2 separate regions of the Homo sapiens genome follow, and region 2 is linked to region 1. Evidence: promoter capture Hi-C in human tissues and cell types (Jung and others, 2019). All regions are on one chromosome and are shown on one strand. The core of a region is centred on a gene start or on the middle of the fragment in contact, and the rest is flanking DNA. Distances in the headings are between cores, read along the strand shown.

Region 1 (3,645 bases), core at 480-2,979:
CAGCCTCCGCCTCCCAGGTTCAAACGATTCTCCTGCCTCAGCCTCCCGAGTAGCTGGGATTACAGGTATGCACCACCACGCCAGGCTAATTTTTTTTTTTTTTGTATTTAGTAGAGATGGGGTTTCACCATGTTGGTCAGGCTGCTCTCAAACTCCTGACCTCAGGTGATCCACCTGCCTCAGCCTTCCAAAGTGCTGGGATTACAGGCTTGAGACACTGCGCCCGGCCTCATTTTCTTCTTTTGAACAATTTCCTCCTGATTAGGGGTGGGGTTACCGATCAGACATTTTGAACATCTTTCTGACTCTTGACAATTTTGCATGTCACAAGATCTGTTGTCCTTGGCCCTAGCCTCTGCAAAGCCAGACCCTAAGGGCTGGCCCCTCTGACATCTCCCTTCCTCCAGCTTTGCGGTCACCCTTTTCACCTGGGGCCTCTGCCTCAGCCTCCTGCCTCTCCTCTCCACAGCCCACTCCTTCTCCTGCCCACAGGCCTGCGGGCTTCCCCTCCCCAGGCAAGCTGGGGCCGTGTCGCAGCGCTTGGCCATCACGACTTTGCCATTGCCAATGCAATCTGGCTCACTGGCATGCACTGTGCTTACCTTAGCCTCAGGGTGTCCTGCATAGGTCCCCAGGAAGATAAACCCTGGGTGATGTGTCATTTTCCCCTTTCCGTTCCTTCCCACGCCCTTCCCCCCACCTCCCCGCGTAGGCAGCGCATCTAGTTGGCACTCCATAAATATCCAAAGTATTTACAAAATAACGTAGAAGTTCTATGCTGTTTAGTTAGATCTCTTAAGGTTGATAATGTACAAGGCAATTTGCATCAGGAGCAGACGAGATAGGGCCCGGCAGATATAAATTAAAAATGCAATTGCACGCATTCATTCAACGAGAACTCACTGAGCAACTACTATGTGCCAACATTATCCACTGCAGTGAATAAAAGACAAACAAACAAGCAAATAACAAAAAAAAAAACAAAAGAGCAAGAAAGTGGCCGGGTGCAGTGGCTCACCGCTGTAATCCCAGCACTTTGGAAGGTCGAGAAAGGAGGATCGCTTGAGGCCACGAGTTCAAGACCAGACTGGGCAACATCATAGTGAGACCTCGTCTCTACAAAAATTAAAAAATTAGTCGGGGGTGGTGCGCCCAGCTCTACTCGGGAGGCTGAGGTGGGAGGATCGCTTGAGCCCAGGAACTGTAGGCTGCAGTGAGCCAGGATCGCACAACTGCACCACAGCCTGGGCAGCAGAACGAGAAATAAATAAACAAATAAAAGCCAGAAAGTAAAAATAAAGTGTTAGATGGCGATTCGAGCTGAGGAGGAAATCAGGCAGGGGAAAGAATCTGAAAGCGAGGAGTGAGTGGCTGGCAAGGCTCCTTCGGAAGGTGGCAATAACAGTCATAGACCGGTCACATCAATTGGGTGTTTACTGCGGGCCAGTGTGTGCCACCAACCTCACACCCGAAAGCCACAAAGACTCACGCCACAACGCAACGAGGCAGGGGCTCCTCCTCCTCCCTTGGTATACGGAAAGAAGCGTAGGGAGCAGAGTTGGGATGCTAGTCAGTACCCCCCTGCACCTAGCCCTTGCCCCTCCGTCTGGCTTTCCCCACTCCCGCTCCGGCGGAGCTAAGGTTAACATTAGACGAGGCTGTGGCTACCGGAAAGAGCGCAGGCGCAGAGCGCGGAATGCGCCTGCGCAGAGCGCTGGGCGACGTGGCCAGTCGGGGCCCGGAAGTGGTCCCTGTAGAACCACTGTGGCACCGCTACTCCGTGCCGCGCCCGTCGAGCATTGCGTTGCTGCATTGCGCCCCACCGACTCCACTATGTTGAAGAAATTCGACAAGAAGGATGAGGAGTCAGGTGAGGGGGCCAGGCCTGGGTCTGAGGGAGGCCGGACCCCCACCCGCCGAGCTTTCCTTCTGGTTCTCTGTCCTGACCCGGAGGCTGAGGCCCAGTGAGGGGCAGGGGCTTGTGCCAGGGTCCACAGCTAGTCAGTGGCAGGCCTCGGAGAGCCCGAGCATGCGCGGCTGTCTCACTCTTGTAAGCTCGGACTGCAATTTTCTGGGTGACCTTGGGCGCGACAAACACCCCCCCCCCCAGGCCTCAATTTACCCATCTGTCAAAGGAGGGGACCATGCCGAATGTTCTCTTGTTACTTTCTTCGTCCAACCTCTTGGGATTCGCTGGGGCTACGTTGGTGCTGGCCAAACTGGGGTGTAACCTGCGGAGCCAGCGTCCTGTGACTGGGAACTCTGACCCCATCATTCATTTATTCAGCAAAGTATATTGAGCAGTTACTGTATGCCAGGTACTGTACGGTGTCCTGGATACTGCAACAGAGCAAGTGGGACACTCAGTGCCTGAGCTAGGAATATTAGAATGGTTGCACCCACGATGGAGGAGGCAGACATCAACCAGATAATCACACGTGTAATTATTTGCAAATGTGTCATCTGCTATGAAGGAACTAGTTACAACGAGATGGTGGTCCCTGGCACATAGGGACTTAGTTAATTACAAGTTATATAAATGAACACAAGACATGGCACCATGAGAAGCACAGGACTGTACCAGGGCTGCTGGGAGATTGTGAGTGGTTTGGGGTAGAGTGGAGCCCACCTGCTTGCAGGAGACTAGTAGGATCCCTAGACAGATTGTAGAGGCTTGATTGCCATTCCTGAGGAGTTTGAACTTTACTAGATTTCCTAGGAAGGGACATCTTCCCTTTACCTATGTCTGGGAGAGTTTTGAAGTTCAGAGTCACAACCTACCTTCTCCATTGTCCTTGACCGTAGGTGGAGGCTCCAACCCATTCCAGCACCTTGAGAAGAGTGCGGTACTCCAGGAGGCAAGTGACATTTGCTCCCCTCTAGCTTCCATCATAAATATTCACCACCAATGCAACTGAAATACCAACACATTCAAAGTGTTGTTTTAAAGAGCAACACGGGAGAAAACTTGTGCCTGGAAGTTTTCTGGAAGACAGGAAAACTTTGTTTCTGGAGAGAGTTAGTTATGCTTACTTCTTTTTTTTTTTTTTTTTTTTTTTTTTTCTGAGACAGAGTCTTGCTCTGTCGCTCAGGCTGGAGTGCAGTGGCGTGATCTCGGCTCACTGCAAGCTCCGCCTTCCAGGTTCACGCCATTCTCCTGCCTCAGCCTCCCAAGTAGCTGGGACTACAGACGCCCGCCACCACACCCGGCTAATTTTTTGTATTTTTAGTAGAGACGGGGTTTCACCGCGTTAGCCAGGACGGTCTTGATCTCCTGACCTCGTGATCCACCCGCCTCGGCCTCCCAAAGTGCTGGGATTACAGGCTTGAGCCACCGCGCCTGGCCTCTCTATTTAAACATTTAAAAAATTTCTCTATTTAAAGTTAATTCCAAAGCTAAGGAAACTGGTTTAAAACTATCACCTAAGCTAGACTGTGGCCATTATGCAGGTAGAGATTTTGCATGACTTGTTTATTTTTATTATATATATTTTTTATATATATATATATATGTATTTTTTTTTAGAAGGCGTCTCACTCTGTTGCTCAGGCTGGAGTGCAGTGGCACGATCTCGGCTCAACTGCAACCTCTGCCTCCTGGGTTCAAGCAATTTTTCTGTCTCAGCCTCCCAAGTAGCCGGGACT
Region 2 (3,600 bases), core at 624-3,123, 330 kb before region 1:
GTGTTGGGGAAAAGCTGAGTGTTGGGAAAAAGGCTGAGGCAGGGCTTGCATGTCTGACGTAACGTAAAAGAGTCTTGGAACATGTCCGGCGTCCAGGGTCTAAAACCCCTTGTGGCCTTTGGAACACCAAGCTCTGTTCCAAAGGGTGGAAGGCTGCCCTGCCGCACTACAATCTAAGCCCAGGGCACAAGCCACAAGGGCGTGGCTTGGACGGAATCCAGGGAACAGCGCATAAAACCCCTCGTGGCCTCTGGAATGTGTCTCGACTTGTTGGCTCCTTGCTTCTAGCACTCCAAGGCTCATAGATCGATTGTGTCTTAAACTAGAAGAATACGTTTCCCATTATCTCAAGTAGCAGAACATGTTCCATATGCTTCAAAGAAAATTCTAAACCATCACAGCTGTAGATCATGCACTTGATACACTGCTTTCTTTCAACCCCCACATCCTCACCACCTGCTTCTTTGATCACCAATAAATAGTGTGGGCTTCCAGAGCTCGGGGCCTTCACAGCCTCCATACTAGTGTTGGCCCCCTGGTCCCACTTTATGCACTCTTGTCTCATCTGTTTGACTCTGCCGGACTTCATAGTCCCCACAGCCTGGAGTTGGGTCTGATCACCCCAACATTCCTGGCGCCCAATATGAGGCAACGAACACCCCAGTGAAGGAACACTAGAGTGTGTGAAAGAGGATGCATCATCAGAGGACACCCGAGGACGACTGAAAGAAGCTCAGCAGGAAAGCTGAGCACTCGGAAGGACCAGGGTAACAATGGCACAAAGTGAAAGCAAACATTCTGCTCAGGATGTTTTAATACAGCTTCTTACATACAATAATGCTAATGCAGTGTCAAACTGCTATTAGACCCCTGACAGGGAAGGTTCAGTTAGCTGAATGTATTAAGGCTTGCGATGGCATTGGAGGTAACTTACATAAGGCTAATCTTTTAGCTCAGGCTATGGCTGGATTGAAAGTAGGAAAGAATATGCCCCATTTCTTGGGCCATTGTTTCAATTGTGGGCAATTTGGACACAGAAAAAAGGAATGTAGAAAAGGAAATCAAAAGGCAAAAACTACCATCAATCAACAGAAAAGTCCCAGTGTATGCCCCCAGTGTAAGAAAGGCAATCACTGGGCAAATCAGTGTCATTCTAAATTTAGCAAAGATGGACAACCTCTTTCGGGAAATGGGAAGAGGGGCCTGCCTCAGGCCCCTCAACAAACCAAGGCATATCCGGCACAGCCAGTGCCCTTACAAACATACAACAATTGTCTCCCACCATAGTAGGCAGTGCTGCTATAGACCTTTGCAGCACAATTCCCATCTCCTTCCTGGGGAGCCACCAAAGAAGGTCCCCACGGGTGTTAGGGAACCCTTACCCTCAGGAACAGTTGGTCTGTTACTTGGAAGGTCTAGTTTAAATTTAAGAGGTGTCAGTGCATACGGGAATAATTGACTCTGATTATACCGGAGAAATTCAATTAGTTTGCTGGGCGCGGTGGCTCATGCCTGTAATCCTAGCACTTTGGGAGGCTGAGGTGGGCAGATCACGAGGTCAGGAGATCGAGACCATTCTGGCTAACACGGTGAAACCCCGTCTCTACTAAAAATACAAAAAAAAAATTAGCTGGGCATGGTGGCGGGCACCTGTAGTCCCAGCTCTCAGGGAGGCTGAGGCAGGAGAATGGAGTGAACCCAGGAGGTGGAGCTTGCAGTGAGTCAAGATCGTGCCACTGCACTCCAGCCTGGGCAATAGAGCAAGGCTCCATCTCAAAAAAAAAAAAAATTCAATTAGTTATTAGTTCCTCGACTCAGTGGTCTTCTTCCCCAGGAGAAAGAATTGCTTAGTTATTGCTGTTACCTTACACAAAACTAGGAAGCAGCACAGTGAAAAGAACAGGAGGCTTTGGTAGTAATCCAGCAGGAAAGGCTGTATATTGGGTTAATCTAGTGTCTGACAGAAGACCTATTTGTACAGTAACTATTCAGGGAAAGGATTTTGAAGGACTAGTAAATACTGAAGCTGATGTCTCTATTATTGCTTTAAATCAATGGCCCCAACACTGGCCCAAACAAAAGACTTCCATGGGTATCACTGGCATAGGGCCTGCTTCAGAAGTTTTTCAAAGTTCCTTGATTTTACCATGTCACGGGCCAGATGGCCAGGAAGGAACAATTCAACCTATTATTACACCTATTCCTATCAATTTATGAGGTAGAGACTTATTGCAACAATGGAGTGCCCACCAAACATCTGAAGATCTATCATGAGCCACAGCATCTAGTGGACCCACCTGTATGGTGCAAATTTAAGGTTTAAGGATTGCTTTTTTGCTATACTGTTGCACAAGAAGGATAAGCTTCGATTTGCTCTCTGTGCCTTCTGTTAGAAGGGGCCTGCTTCTCATTATCAGTGGAAAGTTTTACCCCATGGTAATTAACCAAAGAGGCAGAAGCTGAGTTACAGCTTGTAGAACAAATGCTTCACCAATGGTATGCCTCCCAGCTACAGCCACAAAAGTTTTTGCTTCTGTTTCGCTAGATTTACTAACGTGGGGTTGAGGGTATGCTTGTGTTTTTGCAGGAGATGAACAAGCCGTGTGGGTGCCCTCAAGATGTGTACGACCATGGAACAGGAGACTGGAGGGACCCAACCATGGAGGGGGTTCCCCCAGTACGAGCCATGGGCCAGTTGAATCTGAATGCGAAGATGGAATGAGGACCGACTGGAGTCACGCTGACATCAACCCCCATAACATGGGGGCAGATCAAGAAAACCACACAGGAAGCTGAGAAACTGCTGCAGCGCCAGGGTTTTACCTTTTGCAGGAACTCAGGGGCACAACAGATGCTTAATGGACCAATGCTTTCTGACTGAGCTCCTCTCTACCCTGAATACAAGAGACCCTAATAGGCAGGAATATCATCGCCCCTGTTCAGCATGAAGAAGTTGCAGAAGATGGACCTTCATCCTTCTGCAGCCCTTAGGATTAAAGGTCCTTTTGTAAAAGGGAAGGGGGAAATATGTAAGAAGCATTCAAACCAGAGCGACTACATTTTGAATAAGGGCTAAGACAAATGAAGCTGGATCACCAACTGGCAATTAAGGGCTGAACAGCCTGCAATTGCCTTGCTCAATTAATTTAAAAACAGAAAGACCTTTTGGATTCAAAGTTGTGTTCGGCCACCTTTTATGCTAGCAATAGGAAATGTTACTCTTAAATGCCATCTGGAGGGCAAAGATGAAAATCTCACCCTTGATATTGTAAAACTAAAAGAGAAGGTTTTTGAAGCCTCTCAGGCTCACTTAGCCCTGCTCCCTGGAACTGATATTTTGAACAAGACAGCCAATGGGTTGTCCACAATCAATCCTCTTAAATGGATTAAGGCCATTGGAAGCTCTATACTTGGCAGATTTTGTTCTAATAATTATGTGTTTGTGCTGTCTCCTTTTAGTCTGCAGATGCGGAAGCCACCTCGGGAGAGACAGCTGCCGTCGAGAACAAGCTATGATAGCTGTGGCGGTTTTACAAAAAAGAAAAGGGGGCATGTTGGGGAAAAGCTGAGTGTTGGGAAAAAAGCTGAGGCAGGACTTGC

Evidence for each region. The method cuts DNA at HindIII sites, captures the fragments that hold promoters and counts their contacts. A contact is called where the count stands out against the background at its distance.
Region 2: a contact is called between a fragment that was not itself captured here and the fragment with the promoter of COPG1 in region 1, in 2 of the 25 tissues and cell types used here (bladder and mesendoderm cells).

The regions. Positions count from the first base shown.
Region 1 is chr3:129,247,877-129,251,521 of GRCh38, forward strand. It overlaps COPG1 (coat protein complex I subunit gamma 1), which reads left to right and starts at 1,730. Exons shown (of 24, transcript NM_016128.4): 1 at 1,730-1,870; 2 at 2,806-2,858. The coding sequence starts at 1,834. The HindIII fragment of the contact is 12,995 bases long and covers 1-3,645 here.
Region 2 is chr3:128,920,568-128,924,167 of GRCh38, forward strand. The region is part of intron 12 of CFAP92 (cilia and flagella associated protein 92 (putative)); the gene reads right to left. Among named protein-coding and RNA genes, the nearest start is that of ACAD9, 43 kb to the left of the region's middle. The HindIII fragment of the contact is 6,238 bases long and covers 1-3,600 here.